4 separate regions of the Homo sapiens genome follow, and all the other regions are linked to region 4. Evidence: promoter capture Hi-C in 16 types of primary human blood cells and fetal thymus (Javierre and others, 2016). All regions are on one chromosome and are shown on one strand. Each heading gives the region's core, a stretch centred on a gene start or on the middle of the fragment in contact. The rest is flanking DNA. Distances are from core to core; before and after follow the strand shown.

Region 1 (4,432 bases), core at 320-2,819, 5.0 Mb before region 4:
AGCACCCACATATGCTGGGTTAATATCATGGCTAAGAGGCTGTGGAGTCTGGCTGCCTGGCTTCAACTTCCAGCTCTGCCACTCATCAGCAGTGTGACTGTGGACGTGTGACTTACCCCCTCTGTGCTTCATTTCTCCACCTGAGACACAGGACTAACAAGAGCTCCTTCCTCTCAAGAGGCTGCTGGGAGCAGGAGTTAGAAGCAGCCTCCAAAGGCTAAGTGCTCGACAAAGACCGGTTTGTCTACTCTAGGTTCCCAACCTCGACATTAATGGCACTTGTGTCGTGGCGGGCTATCCTGTGCAACATACGATGTCTACCAGCATCTCTGCCTCTTTTCATGAGATGCCAGTAGCACTTCCCAAGTTGGAAAAACCAAAAAAAAAGTCTCCAGACATTGCCACATGTCCCCTGGGGGACAAAACCACTCCTGGTTGAGAGCCGCTGGCCCACTGGACAAATATTTACCTACGGCACAAAGGCTCTGGGGCAAATTCCAGCTCTGCCTCCTACCAGCTCTGTGTCCTTGGACGAGGTACAAGGCACCTTTTGTAATACCCTGTATCTCCATTTCGTTGACTGTAAAGTGATAGAAGGAGAACAAAAATGCTGAGAACCACACCTGGCTAGTAAGTGTCCAGTCAGACTTAGGGTTACTTTGTCGAAGTTTCCCTGCGAGGTGCCCAGGGGACACTGCTATGAACACGCACGCAGATTAAAATACTAAGTATACATTGGAATAGGCGTTAAAATCGGATATAGAGGAGGGTGACTCCATCCTGACTGGGGTAGAGGTGGCGGGGGTCAACTTCATTTGACAATAAACAGAGTTTCTAAGCACTTTACACATATTACCGAAGGTAATAATGCCTTGCAACAAGCTAAAAAGGCAGATGCTCCGCACTGAGAAAGCAGCAAAACAGAGCAACGATTCTTATCTTCAGGAATCTCACAACTCTGTAAAAGTTGCACTTGTAGAAGCAGCGCGCAAAACGAGCCACCTGCGCCGTATCTACGTTACAACAATAACCATCGTCCCCGGAAGCCCCTTCCCGCAAACCTTTCCGAAGGGGTCCGGTCCCGGCGCCCCCAGACTCCTTTGTAGGGTCCAGCTTCCCACTCAGCTTTCATCTCACAGCCCACCCTCTGCTAGGGTCCCCTTCCCCTCCCCCACCTGTCCCTCCCCCGTCCCGCCCCTCCCCCTCCCCCAGGCGCCCCTCCCCCGTCCTCTCCCTCAGCATTTCTCTCCCGCGTTCAGGACCTCGAGGATCCACGACCCCCTCCCACTATCCACCCCTCCCCCTCTCCAAGTCCCTCCCCCTCTAGTTCCCTCTCCCAGCCCCTTCCCCATCACTCAGCCCCCTTCTCCTCCCCTCCCCGCAAGTCTCCCATCTTTCCCTCCTGAGGCCCCCGGCGCCCCTCTTCCCATCCAACCTCTGGTCCCTCCCTCGTCCAACCGCCCCCACCCAATCCCTCCCTCCTTCCCCCCTCGCTCACCTCACTCTCTCAGGCGAGGCCCCCCAAGCCCCCTCACCTCCCCGCACATGCGCACAAAGCTCGCCGGGACTCCATGCCCCAGCAGGCTTTGCGCCAAACTCCCCCGTCCCCCTCCCCCAATCCCATACTCCGAGCCGCTCGTTCAGCCCAACAACTCCCCATGAAGCCCCGGCCTCACCCCGAACTACAACTCCCAGGAAGCATCGCGGCAAAGGCGGCTGCCAATTGGCCCTCGCCTGGGGACCGCCTTACTCCTGTTTGTCACCGCGTGGCGTCTTCGCCAACACTGGAACTACATTTCCCAAGATACGCGAAAGCGTCGTCTGCAGCCTATTTGGCCTTGACGGCGCAAATGTCGCGGGCTGTCTGAGCGCGACAGGCTTTGGACTACATTTCCCAGAATGCACGAGGAGGCTTCCCAGTGGTCTGCGCGCGGGCCCTGGACATGCGCAGAAGTGCCGGGAAAAAAAGAGGGAGGAGGAGGAGGAGCCATGGCGGCGTTGTTGTGGAGATCAGGGGAGGCCGGGCACCGCCGGGCATTTGGGAGGTGGGGCCTCCGGAGCTCTAGAAGCTGGCAAGCGAAGAGGAGGAGGAGGAGGAGACCAGGCTAGAGTTCTGCGCCAATCAGGAGTGCAGGCTACGTCTCCTTGACTACGGATCGCATTTTTTTTTGTCCTCCCTCTCCACCCGGGCAGAACTTAAGGGCCGATGTCGGTGCCAGGAATCAGGACGTGAGCAGGCTGCCCTCCTGTTCCGGGGTGGGCAGTGGCTCAGGAGGGGGCCAGCGCGGGGGCCTCGGTTTGGCTCTTCCTGTGTGTGAACCTGGACAGGACACCGCCCTCTCTTTAGCCTCAGTTTCCCCTGGGGTGAATTGGGGGACAGCGCTACCTGCCACGCGTCCTCGCTGTGCCCCTATTGGACAGACTACTGCCCCGTCCTGAGGCCTCAGTTTCTGCATCTCAGAACTGTGAAGAAGCATATTTGGATTTTAGAGCAGACAGACATCCTAAGAGATCAGCTGAAGTTTTTATCTAGACAGTTCCAGACCTGATTATGGCTCATACAAGCCCTACCCCAGCCCGCAGCGTATTTCCTCCTCCGTACAACAAGGATAAGAGAATCCCCCTCCCATCCTCCACCTCCCCGGCTGATCTGAAGACTCCGCGCCATAAAAACGAAGACAGTGGCTTACCCATAACAAGCATTCATTACATGGAAGTTGTTCGTCTTATATTCATAAATGAACAACTTTCCCCAGGTTTCACAAGCGATGAGTGGCTGACTCAGAACTTTGTGACCAGTTTGCCCACGGTGGCCTAATCTGCCCTGGCCCACCTGTCTACCACTGTCTTCTCCTCGTGTTTAATGAGTTCCAGTCATGCCTCCTTTCTGCTCCTAGAGCACGCTGATCTTCTTCCCACTCATATCCGATGGCCTACTTGACATCTCCTCTTGGATTTCTTAATAGGCATCTCAAACCTAAGGTGGGCAGTAGATAATTTTTCACTCTCTCCCCCACCTTGCGAAGAAATTTGTTCCTTCCCATTACTCCACCATCTTAGAAAGCAAGTCCATCTTCACCCAAATGTTGAGGCCAAAAATAGAAAAGCAGCCCTTGATTCTTTTTTCTTTTTTTTTTTTTGGTTTTTTGTTTTGTTTTGTTTTGTTTTTTGATACAGGGTCTGGCTGTGTTGCCCAGGCTGGAGTGCAGTGGTGCGATCACAGCTCACTGCAACCTCCGACTCCCAGTCTCAAGTGATTCTCATGCTGCATCCTCCTGAGTAGCCAGGACTACAGGCGTGCACCACCATGCCCAGCTAATTTTTGTATTTTTAATAGAGATGGGGTTTGCCATGTTGGCCAGGCTGGTCTCGAACTCCTGGCCTCAAGTGATCTGCCTCCTCGGCCTCCCAAAATGCTGTGATTGCAAGCGTGAACCACCATGCCCAGCCAATTCCTCTTTTTCATCACCATCCACATGCAATCTATCATCAGGTCCTATTGGCTCTGTCTTCAAAATAGATGCAGAATCTGTCCACAGCTCTCCCGTCTATGGCTACCACCTGGTTTAAGTCCCCATGGCCTCTTTAGACACTGTCATGCTTCCACTCTCGCCTCTTCTGCCTCCTGCCCCTCAGTTCCTGCTCCACACAGCGCCAAAGGGATCTTTTTTTTTTAATTGTGGTAAAATATATACAAGATAAAAATTACCATCTTAATCATTTTTAAGGTACAGTTCAGTAGCATTAAGTACATTCAAGCTAGGCCGGGTGTGGTGGCTCACGCCTGTAATCCCAGCACTTTGGGAGACCGAGGCGTGCGGATCAGAAGTTAGGAGTTCGAGACCACCCTGGCCAACATGGTGAAACCCCGTCTCTACTAAAAATACAAAAATTAGCTGGGCATGGTGGCGGGCACCTGTAATCCCAGCTACTCGGGAGGGTGAGGCCAGAGAATCTCTTGAACCTGGAAGGTGGAGGTTGCAGTGAGCTAAGATTGCACCGCTGCACTTCAGTCCGGGCAACAGAGTCAGACTCTGTCTCAAAAAAAAAAAAAAAAAAAAAAGTACATTCAAGCTGTGCAATCATCACTACTGTCCATTTCCCGAATTTTTCATCTTCCCAAATTGAAATTGTACCCATTAAATGTGAACCACCCATTCCTCTCTCCCCCGAGCTCCTGGCCAACCACCATTCTGTTATCAGTTTCTGTAATTTATTTATTTGAGACAGGGTCTGAATCTGTTGGCCAGACTGGAGTCCAGTGGCTCAGTCTTGGCTCACTGTGACTTCTGCTTCCCAGGCTCAAGGGATTCTCCCACATTGGCCTCCCGAGTAGCTGAGACTACAGGTGCACACAACCACGCCCAGCTAATTTTTTTTTTTCTTTTTTTTGTAGGGACAGCGTTTTGCCATGTTACCCAGGCTGGGTTTA
Region 2 (5,030 bases), core at 1,013-3,512, 6.6 Mb after region 4:
ACCACAGACTTTGCAGCTTAAAACAACATGAATTCATTATCTCACAGTTTCTGTGGGTCAGGAGTTCAGGCATTGCTTAGTTAGCTCTTCTGCAAGGCTGTATAATCAAGGTGCCAGTCAAAGCCCAGGTCTCATCTGAGGCTCAGCTGGGGATGGATCCACTTCCAAGCTCATGTGGTCATTAGCAGCATTCAGTTCCTTGCAGGCTGTCATAATGAGGGCCTCAGTTTCTTACTGTCAGCTGGAGGTCATCCTCAGTTCTTTGCCATGTGGCCCTCTCCACAGGCAGCTCACAACATTGCATCTTGCTTCTTCAAGCCAAGACAGAAGTCATAATCTTATGTAACAGAATCACATACATGCAATCATGTATATCCTGCCACCTTTGCCATATTCTATTGGTTAGATGCAAGTCACAGGTCTTGCCCTCAAGGGGAGGAGATTACATAAAGGAATGAATACCAGGAGGCAGGGATTATGGGGACCACTTTAGAGTCTGTTTACCACAGTGGGGAAGTACATGGGCCATTCCAGGAACAGAGATGTGCCAGGGTTACTAAAGTGTGATGAGAATGGAGGAAGATTTTTGGAATTTCCAAAGAAAGGAAAGCTCCAGGCTGTTTGGGCCCCAGACTACAGTGAGTAGACTGGGAGGGTCCACCTAGCAAATGGAGCTCACATTTTCTCTTTGTTTAACAGGAGCTTGTGAATCCAGAGCCCAACACTTACATCCAAATCAACCCCTCCGTCTAATGGAAGCAGAGATCTTTTCTCCAGGAGTCCTAGAGAAACCATGCTTGATCATATATTTAATGACATTTATTAAGTGCATATTATAAGCCAGTCATTCTCTGTCATCTCTGTAGACCTTGTGATGTTCTACTGCAATGGGTTGGTCAGGCCCTGGCTTCCATAGAATCTTAGATTTTGACTCATATTTTTTTTCAAAGCAATAGTAAGGGTAAAAATGACAGCCCGTGGATCTAGAGTTAGAGGACCAAGGTTTGAGACTGAACAGCTTAGGATATCATAGTTGCAGGCTGAGGATGAGCAAACACTGTTGGTGGACTCCAGAGAGAAGAGTGAGTCTGAGTCAGCCAGAGAGGAGTAGGGGACAAAGACAGGTGTCAGAGAAGAAGTGGCTTTTCAAATCATGATAGAAGATAAGGAACAAGGAGCTCTTAAGAAATTAAGAGCTCTTAATAAAAGGAGAAAACACGTAGTGAAGTGAGGGATTGAGGCTCCTGAGGAGAGGTAGGCATGAAATGCTTAGAATCCTGAGAACTGCAGGGGCGGAGAGAGTCAGAATGAGATTTGCTGAAGGTAAAGAGAGTTAGGAGACAAGGATATCTCCATGGTTTCTTGCCAGGGCAACTGGATGATTGGCAGGTCACTTTCTGAGAAACTTTGGGATAAGGAGAGAAATAAAGAATTTGCTTCATGTCAAGAATTTAGACATGTCAAGAATCAGTTGCAGAATCAAGTAGGCAATTGTTCATAAAAATCTAGACAGATCATGGCTGGAGATACACATTTGAGAGTTGTCAGTGGGACTTAAAGTTATGGGGCTGGATGAGCTCCTCTGTCAGGGGGGTCCCCAAGACCACCTCATGCTCAAAGATTTTCTAGAGGAATTCATAGGACCCAATTGTTATACTCATGGTTATAGTTTATTACAGCAAAAGGATGGAGAATAAAATTAGCAAAGGGAAAAGGTGCATGGGGTGAAGTCTGGAGGATACCCTGCACCAGCTTCCAAGTGTTCTCTTTCAGTGGAGTCACATGGTGTATTAGTCTGCTTTCTTTGGCCTATAACAGAATATCTAAATCTGGGTAATTTGTTTTAAAAAGGAAATTTATTTCTTACAGTTATGGAGGCTTAGAAGTCTAAGGTCTAGGGGTTGCATCTGGTGAGAGCACTTCTTGCTGGTGGGGACTCTCTGTGGAGTCCTGAAGTGGTGCAGGGAATCACATGCCAAGGGGACTGAGTGTGGTAACATGTTAGCTCATGTTTCTCTTTCTTTTCTTATGAAGCTACCAGTTCCACTCCCATGATAACCCGTTAATCCATTAGTCCATGAATGGATTAATCCATTCATGAAGGCAAAACCCTCATGAGCCAATCACCTCTTAAAAACCCCCACCTCTCAATATTGCCACACTGGGGATTAAGTTTCAACATGAGTTTTGGAGGAGACAAATATCCAAACCACAGCACATGGGAAATCCCCCAGCAATGATGTGTGACAACGTGTGTGAAGCATTGCCATCGAGGGAAGCTCACCTAAACCTGGGTGTCCATGGTTTTTATAAAGGGTCAGTCACTGAAGCTCCAGACTCCTAGAAGGAAAGCAGATGTTCCTCCATAAATTACACTGTTAGTATAAACCATCTGGACAAAGTGGTACAGCATGGCTCAAGGCCTCAGGCAAACAAAAGCACTCTTACCAGATAGAACATTATGAGAGCTCAGTTCCCAGAGCTGCCCAAAGGCTAGTCAGGAAAACAGGACCTTCTGGGGAACTTACAGAGTTTGAGCAATAGGCCTGTTATGTCAACCCCAAGCAGAGTGGATGAAGACAAGGCAAGGGACAGGCTGACAGCTGATTCCTGGGTTCCTCTGATGTTTACAGGAGAGATCAAGCAAAGGAGACAAAAAAGGACTGTTAACACAGGGGGAAACCAACACTGAAAACTCCTGGAAATGAAGAGTTTTCAGAATGCGTTGTTGCTATCCTTGGAGCTGAATGGCTATCATAATGATGATAACATTAATTCAGATTTTAAAAATTAATCATTAGATGTGATACAAGAGACCGGAATTAGGATCTTAAGGGTTGCACTCAGTAGTACCAGAAACACCACCCTATTTGAACCCTGAGAACTTTCCTCTTCCCTGCCAAGAAATGTCCCCCTCCCCCTGACATCCTAGAGACAGATCATGCCCTTTTACCCTCTCGTTACTCTTACTTTGTTTTCTAGTATTTATAGTAAATGGATTCATAATCTTCTTGCTCTTCACTGTATCTTGAGCCCTTATCCAATTCATGGCCAATAAACAGAATCTTAATATAAACTTTGGTCTCAGCTCTTCCCGACAGTTGACAGATAAATCTCTAGATTAGATAGGCATCTTTCTAGAATGTTCCTGAGTGGTAACTCTTTAAAATTTTTATTTATTCATTTATTTATTTTGAGACAGGGTCTGGCTCTGTCGCTGAGGCTGGAGTGTAGTAGCATAATCTTGGTTCACTGCAACCTCTGCTTCCTGGGCTCAGGCAATCCTTCCTGCCTCAGCCTCCTGAGTAGCTGGGACTACAGCTTGTGCCACCAGGCCCAGCTAATTTTTGTATTTTTTGTAGAGACGGGGTTTCACCATGTTGCCCAGGCTGGTCTCAAACTCCTGGGCTCAAGTGATCCTCCTGCTCCGGCTTCCCAAAGTGTGGGGATTACAGGCGTGAGCCACTGCGCCCAGCAGTGGTAACTCTTCTAAAGTCCCTGTAATATTCAGGTTAAGTCAGGATTTATAGGTTCCTGGAAGTAAACATTACCACCTTGTTCATTGTGAAAGAAAATAAAAAAGACTAAACAAAAGACAGATAAACAAAGTCAGTTTTACATTACATAGTACTAACGCTTTATTTTCTGAAAATTGTTTTTTTTTTTTGAGATGGAGTCTTGCTCTGTTGCCCAGGATGGAGTGTAGCAACGTGATCTTGGCTCATTGCAGCCTCTGCCTCCCAGGTTCAAGCGATTCTTCTGCCTCAGACTCCTGAGTAGCTGGGATTACAGGCGTGCATCACCATGCCTGTCTAATTTTTGTATTTTTTAAGTAGACACAGAGTTTTGCCATGTTGGCCAGACTGGTCTTGAACTCTTGACCTCATGATTGGCCTGCCTTAGCCTCCCAAAGTACTAGGATTACAGGTGTGAGCCACTGCGCCTGGCCTATTTTCTGAATATCTTAAACAATTAGCAGAAAAATAAATGAAGTGAAAAAAGGAAGACGACCTAACACTCAAAGCATCCCATTCTGATTTTGTCATATTTGTATTTGCAGATCAATCTGCAAGATTTTACATCTTTACAACACACAGCTAGCAACACAGCATTTCTATTTGTCCATTTTTCTCTCTCAGTAAGGTTTTGAGGGTTTCTTCAGATGACATATTTATCTTACTAAATTTACTTATAAGGCTTTTTTTTTTTGCTTTTTTGTGAATACATACGAACTTTTTCTGTTTTGTTTGCAAACTTAGTATTGCTTGCACGTAGAGGAAAGATACTGATGTGTAGACAAGCGGCAACATAATGTAAAAGTTAAGAGCATGGACTCTAGAGTTCAACATCTTGGTCTCAAATGCACAACATAGGTGGAAATACAGATGAAACAAGACTGAGTGAAAATATTTAAGTTGGATGACATAGGTCTTGGGGAGTCATTAATTGAGTCCCTACTTTTGTTTTGAAATTTACAAAATAAAAGGTTAAAAAAATAAGCTACTTACTTCAATGTAGAAACCGATGTCACATTTAACCCTCAAACTTCAGAGATATGTCCATTAAAAGAACACAAACAAGAATGCCTCTTTTAGTAATACTTTTTTGGAAATGGTAGCCAATATAATCCAACATGAAAGAGAATGTCTAATTTAAAATACTGGTAAGGAAAAGATGAAATTGTAGATAACTGTCTCAATAGAAAAGCCAAGAGAGTCAACTGGAGTATTGTAAGAATTAATAACATTGCAGTAGGTTAACCAGATACAAAATAAGTATTTTTTAAAAGATCAACCACAATAACCAATAATAAGAAGCTTTGGGGATAGAGATTACATTTCAAATAGTAATAATTCATTGTTTTTAAAGGTCAGAATTTACGTGAAGAAAACTACAGGAGTGCTTTGACAAGCATTTTAAAAACTAAAAAATTATGTATTTTCATACAGCAGGGCTCCAATTTTCAGCTACCTCCCTGGTAGGATGAAAATTAACACAACTACCTCATAGGCTGATTGGGCTTGGTAATG
Region 3 (4,943 bases), core at 413-2,912, 5.0 Mb before region 4:
CGATCTCAGCTCACTGCAACCTCTGCCTCCCAGGTTCAAGCCATTCTCCTGCCTCAGCCTCCCGAGTAGCTGGGATTACAGGTGTCCGCCACCACGCCCAGCTAATTTTTGTATTTTTAATAGATATGGGGTTTCACTATGTTGGCCAGGGTAGTCTCGAATTCCTGACCTCCTGACGTCTGCCTCTGCCTCCCAAAGTGTTGAGATTTACAGGTGTCAGCCACTGCACCCGGCCACACTTCCTTCTGTTCTAAGATATATTTAAAAATTTACCTTTGTGATATTTCTGAAGGAGGGACACAGATATCCTCCTATTGACACACACAGTTAACACAGCACTGTTCACCCCACCCCATGGAAAGATGTTATTAAATCAATAATATACATCTTATGATTGATGCTCACTGAGCTTTGAGGGTATACAGTGGCCACAACAATAGACTTATATGTAACACTGCTAATAGGTAATAATAACCACCATCATTTTTGTGAACTTACTATGGGCCAGGTATTGAACTAAGCAGCTCTTACACATATTACCTTGCAGGTTATCTTATTTTTTCCCATTCCACAGATGAGAAATTGAGGCTGAGAAAGGTGTTATTCCACCAGTGAATTATAGCTTCTTATCTTTTCTGACTACCAGTGAGGATGATAACAATTATAAGCGATAAGTCATCTGCCACTTAGGTGAGAGTCAGCCAAGTACAGAACAGAGGAAGGACCAGAAGGACCAGCCTACAAGGACACTATGGTTTGGACAATTATTTTAAAATATGTGTTTTTTGCAAGAATACCAACAGTAACAGCTAACACCCAGTGCGTCCTTACTAGGTGCCTACCTAACGCGGGGGAAGTAGTGGATTCTCAGGGCTATGACACGAGGCAGTGTGTACAGTCAAGGGTTAAATACACGAATTTAGAGCCAAACTCCATGGGTTCGGGCCGAGGCTCTGGCATTCCGGGTGTGTGACTTTTGGTAGGTGATTTGACTCCTCACCTGCAACATAGGGATAGGACCTACCATGAGGCCCTAGTTAGGACTAGGACCTAGTGCGTGTGAAGCACTTGGAGGCGCACAATGTATTTTCATCACTTCAGAAAGGAGGAAACTGAGGCCATGGCACCTGAAGCGCAGCACTCTCTGTCCAGTAACTAAGGAACCCGGGGTCTCTGTCCAGTAACTAAGGCACCTGGACTCGGGCCACTGGGAGGTGCAGCGGCAGAGAAGGGGTTACCATGATAGAGACGGTAGGAGGACCCGGGGTGGCACGAGCGTCCCTCTCCACCACTTCACTCTCCTCACGGCGGGCCCGGGGACCCGGCCGCGCAGGCGCGAGGAGCCCGGGTTGTCGGGGGGGCACCGCCCTAGACACCCGGAAGTCTCCGCCTAACGGGCCCAGCCCGCACCTCCTGTCCGGGAAGGGGGCGGGGCCGAAGCCCCTCGGCGCGGGGCGCCATAGAGCATGGACGGAGGACCTGCGTCCTAGACACTTCCGGAAGTGGCTCCCTCAGGCGCCCGCCGGGCACCACAGAGCTGGGGGCGGTGGCCGGGATAGCGGGCTCGCCTTCCTAGAGCGGCGAGGACAGGGTGGCGGCCCGGGGGGCAGGGAGTAGGGAGAAGGGGGGGAGCGGCGCGGGCGGAAGCGGCCGGGAAGGTCACTTCCGGCCTGGGCGCCCGTCCCCCTGACCCCAGGGTCTGAGTCGCCGCTGCCGCCGCTGCCACCATCCGCGAGGCAGGAGAGAGGAGGAGGAGTGCGGCGCGGCGGCCCCGGGACCAAGGAGGTGAGGGGTGGGGGCGGGGGCCGTGCGCTGGGGGCCAGGTGGGCGCGCGCTTCGGGAAGCTGGGCTTGGGCTGGGGGTGGGTGGGGAGACTGGAGGGCGAGCGCGACTGGGCGGCGGGCGCGCGTGCGCGCTGCTGGGGGGGCGTGAGTGGGCGCGCGGCCGGGGTGACGCGGGCGGGGGGAGTGCGCGTGCGCGCCGAAGAGCTGTGGGAGGGGACGCGCGCCCGGGCGGCCCGCGGGCGGCGAGCGGGGCTGGAGGGGGGGTGCGCGTGCGCGGGTCCGGGTCCAGGGCGCGCGCGTGCGCGTGGCGGGGGCAGGAGCGGGGGCCTCGGTGGGGGTCCCTCTGCTGCGGGCCGTCGGGGGTGGGGCCGCTGTCCGTCCCCCCGAAGTTCCAACTCCGCCGGTCGTGGCCGGAAGTGGTGGCGACTTCGGGGGGAAGTTGAGGCCCAGGTGGGGGAAGGGGCCGCGCGGTTGGGCTGGCCTGGCCGGATACCGCGGCCCCGAGGGCACGGTCTCAGCCCTCGGCCCCCCCAGCCCTTCCTTCCCCTTTTCGAGTCAGCCCGGGTCCCGTTGCTGCCCCGGGCGGGCTGCGCGTGGCCTTTGATCAGGCGGGTAATTACGGGGATTCTGGCCGGCAGGAGGCCCATTCATTCGTCCTTGCTCGGCAGGCGGGGAGGAAGCGCGTCCCCAGCGGGGGAAGTGACTGGGCCAAGGTCAGCCACCGCGTGGCCCACGGGGCAGGGCGAAGGCGGGGACTGGATCGGGTGGCGACTCCTGAGGCCTCCCTCCCCTGTGCCGAGTGGATCAGAGTGGAGCCCCGCCCTCCTGACACCCCACCCCGACCCCCAGTCCAGGGAGCTGACCCCAATTCATGTGGATGAGTGCTCTGGGACCTGCAGAGTCGCACAGAAAAGTGACCCACAGACACAGAAGGCAGGAGTGAGTGGAGGCAGAAGTTTTTCCAGTGCCAGGCCCTGTGCCGGGCACTAGAGACAGGGAGCAGGGAGATGAACAAGGGCTTGGAGTCTGGGTGGAAGGCAGAGACTGAGACCCGGGCGACAGAGTCGCCATCCAAGGTGACCAGACCCCTGATGGAGAGGTCTGGGGGCTGTGGGAGCCAGGGAAGGCATTTTGACCCAGCCCAGTCCGGGGGATGGTCAGGGCTTTAGGGAAGGAATGGCTTGGTCTGCTCTTTGCGGTGTCCTGCTCCCAGGTCCCATGTTGCGCAGTGCTTAGAACCCATCTGGGGATCCGATTGACCCCAGCGCCGGGAAGCACAGTTGCGTTGATCCTGGCTTAGCTCCTCTGAAGACCGTAAGCCTCTTTGGCTAAACGCTGCTGACATTCACCTGCCTGCCTCTGCGCAGTCCCTGTGGTCCTCCGGCCACGCACGGCCTCAGAGAACATCCAGATCAGATTCCTGCTTGCTTATCTCATGTCTTATCCATCCATCCGGGCACCCGGCCTGGCCCCTCCCTGGTGCACTGCCAGAGTGTGTGCAGGCACTGGGTTGTATTCCCCAAGAGCTCTGGGACTGGGCAGGCCTGGGTTCAAGTCCCAGCCCCACCACTCACCTTCGTGGCCTTAGACGAGTAACTTCAGTGCCTTACTTTCCACCAGGACAGAGTGGGAGTGGTAATAATAGTATTGACCTCAGCGGGAAGGCTCTTAATGCTTTCATTTTAGAGCCAGAGCAGACCTCAACAGATGGGTGTAAAGTAAATGGAAAGGGCTCTGGAGCCAGGCCCTTTCCTGGGCCTTGGCCTTGGCACTGTCTCTTCCACTTCTGTGACCTTGGACATGTCACTTCCCTTTTCCCAGGTTCAATTTCCCTTCAGTTGTCTAAAAACGAGAGCAAGTTCACAATTCCCTGAGTAAATGTAATCCATCCAGGCGGCTGCACAGGCCAGGCCCTGTGCTGGGCATGAGGTCACACATGGTCTTGGCACAGCACTGTCCTGTGAGGGCCCAGATGAGGTGCCTGGCCCAGCCTGGGTGAAGAGAGGGATCTCAAGGCCCTTCTGTGCAAGCACAAGGTAGAGTGGTGCTCCGTGCTGGGCAGCCTGGCAGGAATCATACAGTCCCTGTCCCAGAGCAGCTGAGACCCATTCACACTGGGCAGAGGGGTGGGGAGATTTGCCAGAGTGCTCCCGGGAGCTCTGACCTTGAGGGAGGGGTGTGTGGTGCAGGGGAGGTATTGTGTCTTGAAAGATAGAGAGGAAGGATTGGCTACCAGGAACCTGGTACTTAAGGGAGGATGACAGTGGGCTCTGGGCAGGGAATGGCAGGGGTCACAGCTCAAGGCCACCAGCAACTGCCTGGCTGCCCTGGGAGGTCTTTTGTTACTAGGCATACACAGCTCTCAGGACACCCATCCTCAGACATGTTTCACAGGCCTTTCCAAACCTCGTTCGTGTGTCCTCTGGTGCATCCTGAGGCCTCCAGCCTAGTGAGGACTGTGCCAGGTGCTGGGGCCTCTGTGGTGTGAGAAACTGCAGATTCGACAACACTTGCTGGTGCACACTTTGCAGGAACCTGGCCCAGTGCCTGGTCCTCACTGTCCTAAATTCTCAAGGCTCTGGGATGGAGGTGGTCACCTCCATTTTAGGGGTATGGGATGGAGGCTCTGGATGGCACTTGTTAGCCCAAGGCCCCCAGCAGCTTCAGAACCTGTGTCTACTGCGATTCCAGAGCCCAGACCCTTGACCATCACAACCGCCCCCTTCCGCCCCCAGGTTGGGGTCTAGGGGGACAAAGGCTGTTCCGAAGTCCTCTAGGTGTTAGTCATTGGCTTGGAGACGCTGGACTCCCTGCCTAGTGGGGTGTACTGTCCACGAGGACTCCTACACGCAGGGCTGCTGGCTGGTTCAGGGGAACCCCAGCATAGTGGGAGAAGCACAAGTGGCTCGGAAGTTGAGTGCTGAGATCCATGCAACCCCCAAGGAGGCCTCACTCACCCAGCATCAGGGAGAGCAAGGCAGGTGTGGAGTTCGAGCAGTCACACCTCCAGTGTCAGTGGCCCTGTCCCAGGAGCCCAGAGCTGTCACCTTACAGCTGCAGAGAAACCAGCCCAAGCTCTGAGCCCAGGTGGGGCGGCCCCAGGCCTGTCTGTTCCTGCAAGGGACCTGGCAACTTGAGGCTGTTTTTCGTGACGTTTTC
Region 4 (4,897 bases), core at 1,300-3,799:
CCAAATCGGGCCTGCTGCCTGTTTTTACATGGCCCACAAGCTACAAATGATTTTACATCTTTAAATGGTGTAAAATCTTCAAAATTCTTCAAAAGAAGAATATTTCCTGACACATGCAAATTACATGAAATTCAAATGTCAGTGTCCATCAATAAAGTTTTATTGGTATACAGCCACCCTCACTTGCTTATCTTATATCAATGGCTGCTTTCAACATACAACAGCAGAGTTGCCACAAAGACCCTGTGGCCCACAAAGCCTAAAATATTGGCTACCTGGCCCTTTACAGGAAAGGTTTGCAACCCCTGCTGTAGAGTCAGGCAGTCCAGGGAAGTGACATCACTGAGCTTCAAGATCCTCACCTAAGTAGAATTACAAGGCTGGGCATGCTGACTCACACCTGTAATCCCAGCACTTTGGGATCACTTGAGGTCAGGAGTTTGAGACCAGCCTGGCCACTATGGTGAAACACCGTCTCTACTGAAAATACTAACATTAGCCAGGTGTGGTAGCGCACCTGTAATTCCAGCTACCCAGCAGGCTGAAGCAGGAGAATCACTTGAATCCAGAAGGTGGAGGTTGCAGTGAGCCGAGATCGCGCCACTGCACTCCAGCCTGGGTGACATAGTGAGACTCCATCTCAAAAAAAAAAAAAAAAAAAGAAGAAGAAGAATTACAGTTGTACCCAACTCATATGTAACATATAATCTTAATGTTATGAGAATTGAGATGAGAATAATAACCACTTGTTGAGCACATACTATGTGCCAGAAGCTGTTCTAAATTCTTTAGAGGTGTTGTTAATTCAATTTGACTTCGCATAAATCCTATGAGGCAGGCTATTATTGCCCCCCTTTCACAGATGAACAAACTGAGATGATGCATGGCACATAGCAGCCTTTGTTGAATTTTTTTTTTTTCTGACACCCTGGCTGGCAGTGATTGAAATTGAGCTTTCAAGGCTCTTAACACTTCCATGTCAAGCTTTATCACTCCATATTGACTAAGTCCCTGTCTCCCCCACCAGGAGGACAGGGTGGTGGTGTAAGGGGTGGGGGATGCTCAGAGGACAGTAACCAAGTCTGATTCATTTGTGTCACCTAAACCTAGCCCAGGGGCAGCCTGGCACAAGGAGACCTCAGGAAATAAATTCAACAAATGAACCAACGCACACAGATGAACAGAACTGGCCCATGATAAGGCTTAAGAGTGACCTCACGGAGCTCATTTAATATGAAAGGAAGGCATCATGGTTTCCTGTTATGGGGGAAAAAAATGGGCTACAGGGTGCATGGGGTTCCTTCTCACGTCATCACCGGCCGTAGACCTACACATCCTGGGGCTCTCTGCACATCTCCACATCTCAGTCTAAGGCTCTGGTGGTCCCTTAATCTAGAGGATTTTTTTTTTTTTTTTGAGACAGAGTCTCACTCTGTGGCCAGGCTGGAGTGCAGTGGCGCGATCTCGGCTCACTGCAACCTCTGCCTTCTGGGTTCAAGCCATTCTCCTGCCTCAGCCTCCCGAGTAGCTGGGACTACAGGCGCGCACCACTACGCCCAGCTAATTTTTGTATTTTTAGTAGAGATGAGGTTTCACCATGTTGGCCAGGATGGTCTCCATCTTTTGACCTCGTGATCCACCCGCCTCGGCCTCCCAAAGTGCTGGGATTACAGGTGTAAGCCACCGCGCCGTCTAGAGGAATTTTGAGCCTCAGTTTTTTCGAGGACCTAGGTTTGGGGACCTGGATCTCAAGGGTCTCAGATATCTGAGTCCTTAAACTCCTTGTGCCCCGGTATTTGAGTCACCGGGGTCTTCAAGACCCTTGGGCCTTGTGGGGAGGGTGGAGGCCTCCAGATCCCTGTGTCTAGGGTGCAGACGGTTGTCTCCAGGTCTACTGGTTCTCTCAGGTGCTTTGGTGCCAGGGGTCTGCGTTTTTAACCCCCTTAGTCTCAAGGGTCTGAGTCTCTGAGCCTCTGGGCTCCTGGGTTAGGTGAGAAGGGTCTTTGGATCCTTCTGTTTAGAGTCTGGGTCTCCAGCACGCGCATCACGACAGCCCCCGCGTGCGCGCGGAGTTCCACTCCAATCCTCGAAGTCTGCTCTACGCATGCGCTATCTGCGCCTTTTACACTAGCGACCAACCCCTGCAGTTCCACCTTCAATTCCCACCCGCAACCCCGCCTCAAAGGGCAGAAATCATAGGCCCTGTAATCCCCTTAAAATCCTATAATAATCCCACAAAATCAGTTAATCAGAATACAACTACTTCGCCCATCCAGCAACCTGCCGGGTGACAGCGCGCTGCCATGACAACAGTACACGCAGCTCCGCCGCTCCCTGCGGCCGCGCGCAGGCGCAGAAAGTAAACGCGGGGGGAGGGGGAGCAGTGTATTTTGGGAGCGGCAGAAAGAGCAATGCAAGTGTTTCTGGGAGTTGTAGGCCAAGCGGGACCCCGGAGCCGTAGGCGCATCCAGCGGAAGTGTCGCATGGGCTTCTGGGAGTTCTAGGCAAGAAAGCCCCAAGACCTTATGGGAGTGGTAGTCTCGGAGTCACTTCCGGGCCAGGCTTCCGCGTGGTGGGCAGTGTGGGCATCCCAGCACTGAGTTCTGCCCGGGTGAGTATTTCCTCCTGCGGTGGGTCGGCATGTGGACTCCGGCTCTTTGTTGCGGTGCCGTGGGAGGGTTGAGGGTCTCTTCGAGCGTAAGGCCTCTGTGATTTCCCAGCGCCCGTGTCCCTGAGGCCTTGTAGCCAGGATTCCCACTTTGAACGCTGCGGTCCGGCCTGTCTCTTACCGGGCCACTCCCTTCCCCAAGACAGGATAAGACCATCTGCTTGCCCCCGCCCCTATGTTACTATCTGCCTGTCCCCGCCCCCATGCCACACATTATCTGTCCTTTTGACAAGGCTGCAATCCAGAGGCATCCCTGGGGTCCGCGGCCTCTCTTCTGGGAGCACTTATTATTCCCTCATCCTACAGATACTTACTGAGCACCGACTCTGCGCAGGGCGGCGGGAGCGAGGGCACCAGACCAACCCTGTCCCTGCCTTGAAGCAGAGAGACAGACCTGTCACCAGTGACAGCTAGTCAGGATCAGGGCAGCTCTGAGGGCCCTGGTGGAGGCGCTCGACTCAGTGACGAGGGTCCATAAAGTCTTTGAGGGAAGACGCTTAACATGCATGTCAAACCTGACGTGGCCAAATGGAATTCCTGGTCTTCTCACCTCACAAAATGGCCCCACCGTCCCTCCAATGCTCAGGCCAGAACCTCAAAGTTACCCTTCATCACTTTCTCTCGTCGTTGCCCCAGTCCCCACTCCAATCAGTCTTATACAAGTCCTGTGGGCTCCACCTTCAAAATAGATCCAAAATTTCACTTCTTCCCACCTCTACTGCCAGCACTCCTGTCTAGTGTGCTGACCTCCAGCCTTCTGTCCTTGTCCCTGACAACCAACAGTCCTCCCCACACAGCAGCCAAACGAATCCCACTTTTTTTATTTGAGACAAGGTCTCACTCTATCACCCACGCTGGAGTGCACTGGTGCGATCATGGCTCACTGCAGCCTTGACCTCCTGGGCTCAAGTGATCCTCCTGCCTTGGCTTCCTGAGTAGCTGGTACTACAGGCCTGTGCCACCAGGTGCAGCTAATTTATTTATTTATTTTTTTAGAGATGGGGTCTCGCTATGTTGACCAGTCTAGGAATCCTTTTAAAACATGCCAGATCATACCACTTTACTGTTCAAAAACCTCCCAAGGCTCCCATCTCCTCCTGAATAAACCTAAAATTCCACATCATGGCCTATGAGGCTCTGCTAACTTGTGCAGCCTTGTCCCCTGCGAGCGTCTCCCTTCCTCAGGACGTGGACCCCCCAGGACTGGGTGACTGTAGATTTAGGGGGTGAGGAGAGATGAGTCCAGGGTGACGTTACGTCCTGTCCTGCAGATGGGCTGGATGAAAGGTGGTGGCTGCTCTCAGAAGAGAGGGAACAGATGGGCAAGAACAGGTTTCTGCCTTTCGAGGAAGAAATAGGTTGTCTGGGCGCTTAGGGTCTGAACATCTTTAAGGTGCCCCAGCCATGTGGAGGACCAGCCAGGAGGGACATCTGAATATCATGATTCAGAGGCGCTCATAAGAATGGAAAGAAGCTGGGCACAGTGGCTTACGCCTGTAATCCCAGCACTTTGGGAGGCCGAGGCGGGCGGATCACTTGAGGTCAGGAGTTCAAGACCAGCCTGGCCAACATGGTGAAACCGCATCTCTACTAAAAATACAAAAAAAAAAAAAAAAATTAGCCAGGCATGGTGGTACACGCCTGTAGTCCCAGTTACTCGGGTGGCTAAGGCAGGAGAAACGCTTGACCCTGGGAGGCAGAGGTTACAGTGAGCCGAGATTGTGCCACTGCATTCCACCTGGGTAACAGAGCCAGACTCCATCTCAAAAAATTAAATTAAATTAAATTAAAAATCTTTAAAAAATGGAAAGAGATGGGTGCTAGGCAGGACCTGAGGACATGAAGAGGCGTCCCCAAAAGAGAATTGAGCAGGAAATCCAGGAGCACAGAAGGAGTGAGTCAAAAGTCGGGGGAAGAAAGATTCCAAGAGTTGCTGCTCACCTGTGACAGATGTTCCCGACGGTCACTGCAGATGAGTCCTAAGGGCTGCTTCTTGGGCTCAGTGGCAGGAAGAGTACTCAGGGCAGAGGGGAGAGCCAGTGCAAACATCTGGAGCAGGAGTATTCCTCAGGTGTCAGAGTAAACGACATCAAGGCTGAAGGAGAGGAGGTTGGAGAAACAAGGAGCCACACATGTAGGGCCTCATCGGCCATTAGCAGTTATTATACTAAAGTGAGATGGGATCCAGGGGAGGATGCTGAGAAGATTCAGGGCATGATCCCACTGGCT

The links. The method cuts DNA at HindIII sites, captures the fragments that hold promoters and counts their contacts. A CHiCAGO score of 5 or more calls a contact.
Region 1: the fragment with the promoter of ZNF444 here is called in contact with the fragment with the promoter of CTU1 in region 4 in 3 of 17 cell types (naive CD8 T cells, non-activated CD4 T cells and activated CD4 T cells); the score reaches 7.0 in naive CD8 T cells.
Region 2: a contact is called between a fragment that was not itself captured here and the fragment with the promoter of CTU1 in region 4, in 3 of 17 cell types (total B cells, naive B cells and activated CD4 T cells). The highest score is 8.3, in total B cells.
Region 3: a contact is called between the fragment with the promoter of ZNF787 here and the fragment with the promoter of CTU1 in region 4, in 4 of 17 cell types (activated CD4 T cells, non-activated CD4 T cells, total CD4 T cells and 1 more). The highest score is 11.1, in activated CD4 T cells.

The regions. Positions count from the first base shown.
Region 1 is chr19:56,138,424-56,142,855 of GRCh38, reverse strand. It overlaps ZNF444 (zinc finger protein 444), which reads right to left and starts at 1,569. Exons shown (of 5, transcript NM_018337.4): 1 at 1,499-1,569. RefSeq lists enhancers at 1,607-1,746, 1,777-2,106. The HindIII fragment of the contact is 17,292 bases long and covers 1-4,432 here.
Region 2 is chr19:44,501,884-44,506,913 of GRCh38, reverse strand. It overlaps CEACAM20 (CEA cell adhesion molecule 20), which reads left to right. Exons shown (of 12, transcript NM_001102597.3): 12 at 700-755. The coding sequence ends at 753. Among named protein-coding and RNA genes, the nearest start is that of ZNF180, 3.9 kb to the right of the region's middle. The HindIII fragment of the contact is 5,114 bases long and covers 1-4,819 here.
Region 3 is chr19:56,118,014-56,122,956 of GRCh38, reverse strand. It overlaps ZNF787 (zinc finger protein 787), which reads left to right and starts at 1,662. Exons shown (of 3, transcript NM_001002836.4): 1 at 1,662-1,785. It overlaps LOC124904772 (a long non-coding RNA gene), which reads right to left and starts at 1,347. Exons shown (of 2, transcript XR_007067348.1): 1 at 1,025-1,347. RefSeq lists silencers at 1,166-1,535, 1,626-1,745, 1,756-1,835, 2,126-2,445, 2,526-2,575 and enhancers at 1,180-1,895, 2,323-2,617, 4,853-4,943, 4,762-4,943. The HindIII fragment of the contact is 11,888 bases long and covers 1-4,943 here.
Region 4 is chr19:51,106,061-51,110,957 of GRCh38, reverse strand. CTU1 (cytosolic thiouridylase subunit 1) reads left to right here and starts at 2,549. Exons shown (of 3, transcript NM_145232.4): 1 at 2,549-2,611. RefSeq lists an enhancer at 2,254-2,583. The HindIII fragment of the contact is 4,633 bases long and covers 987-4,897 here.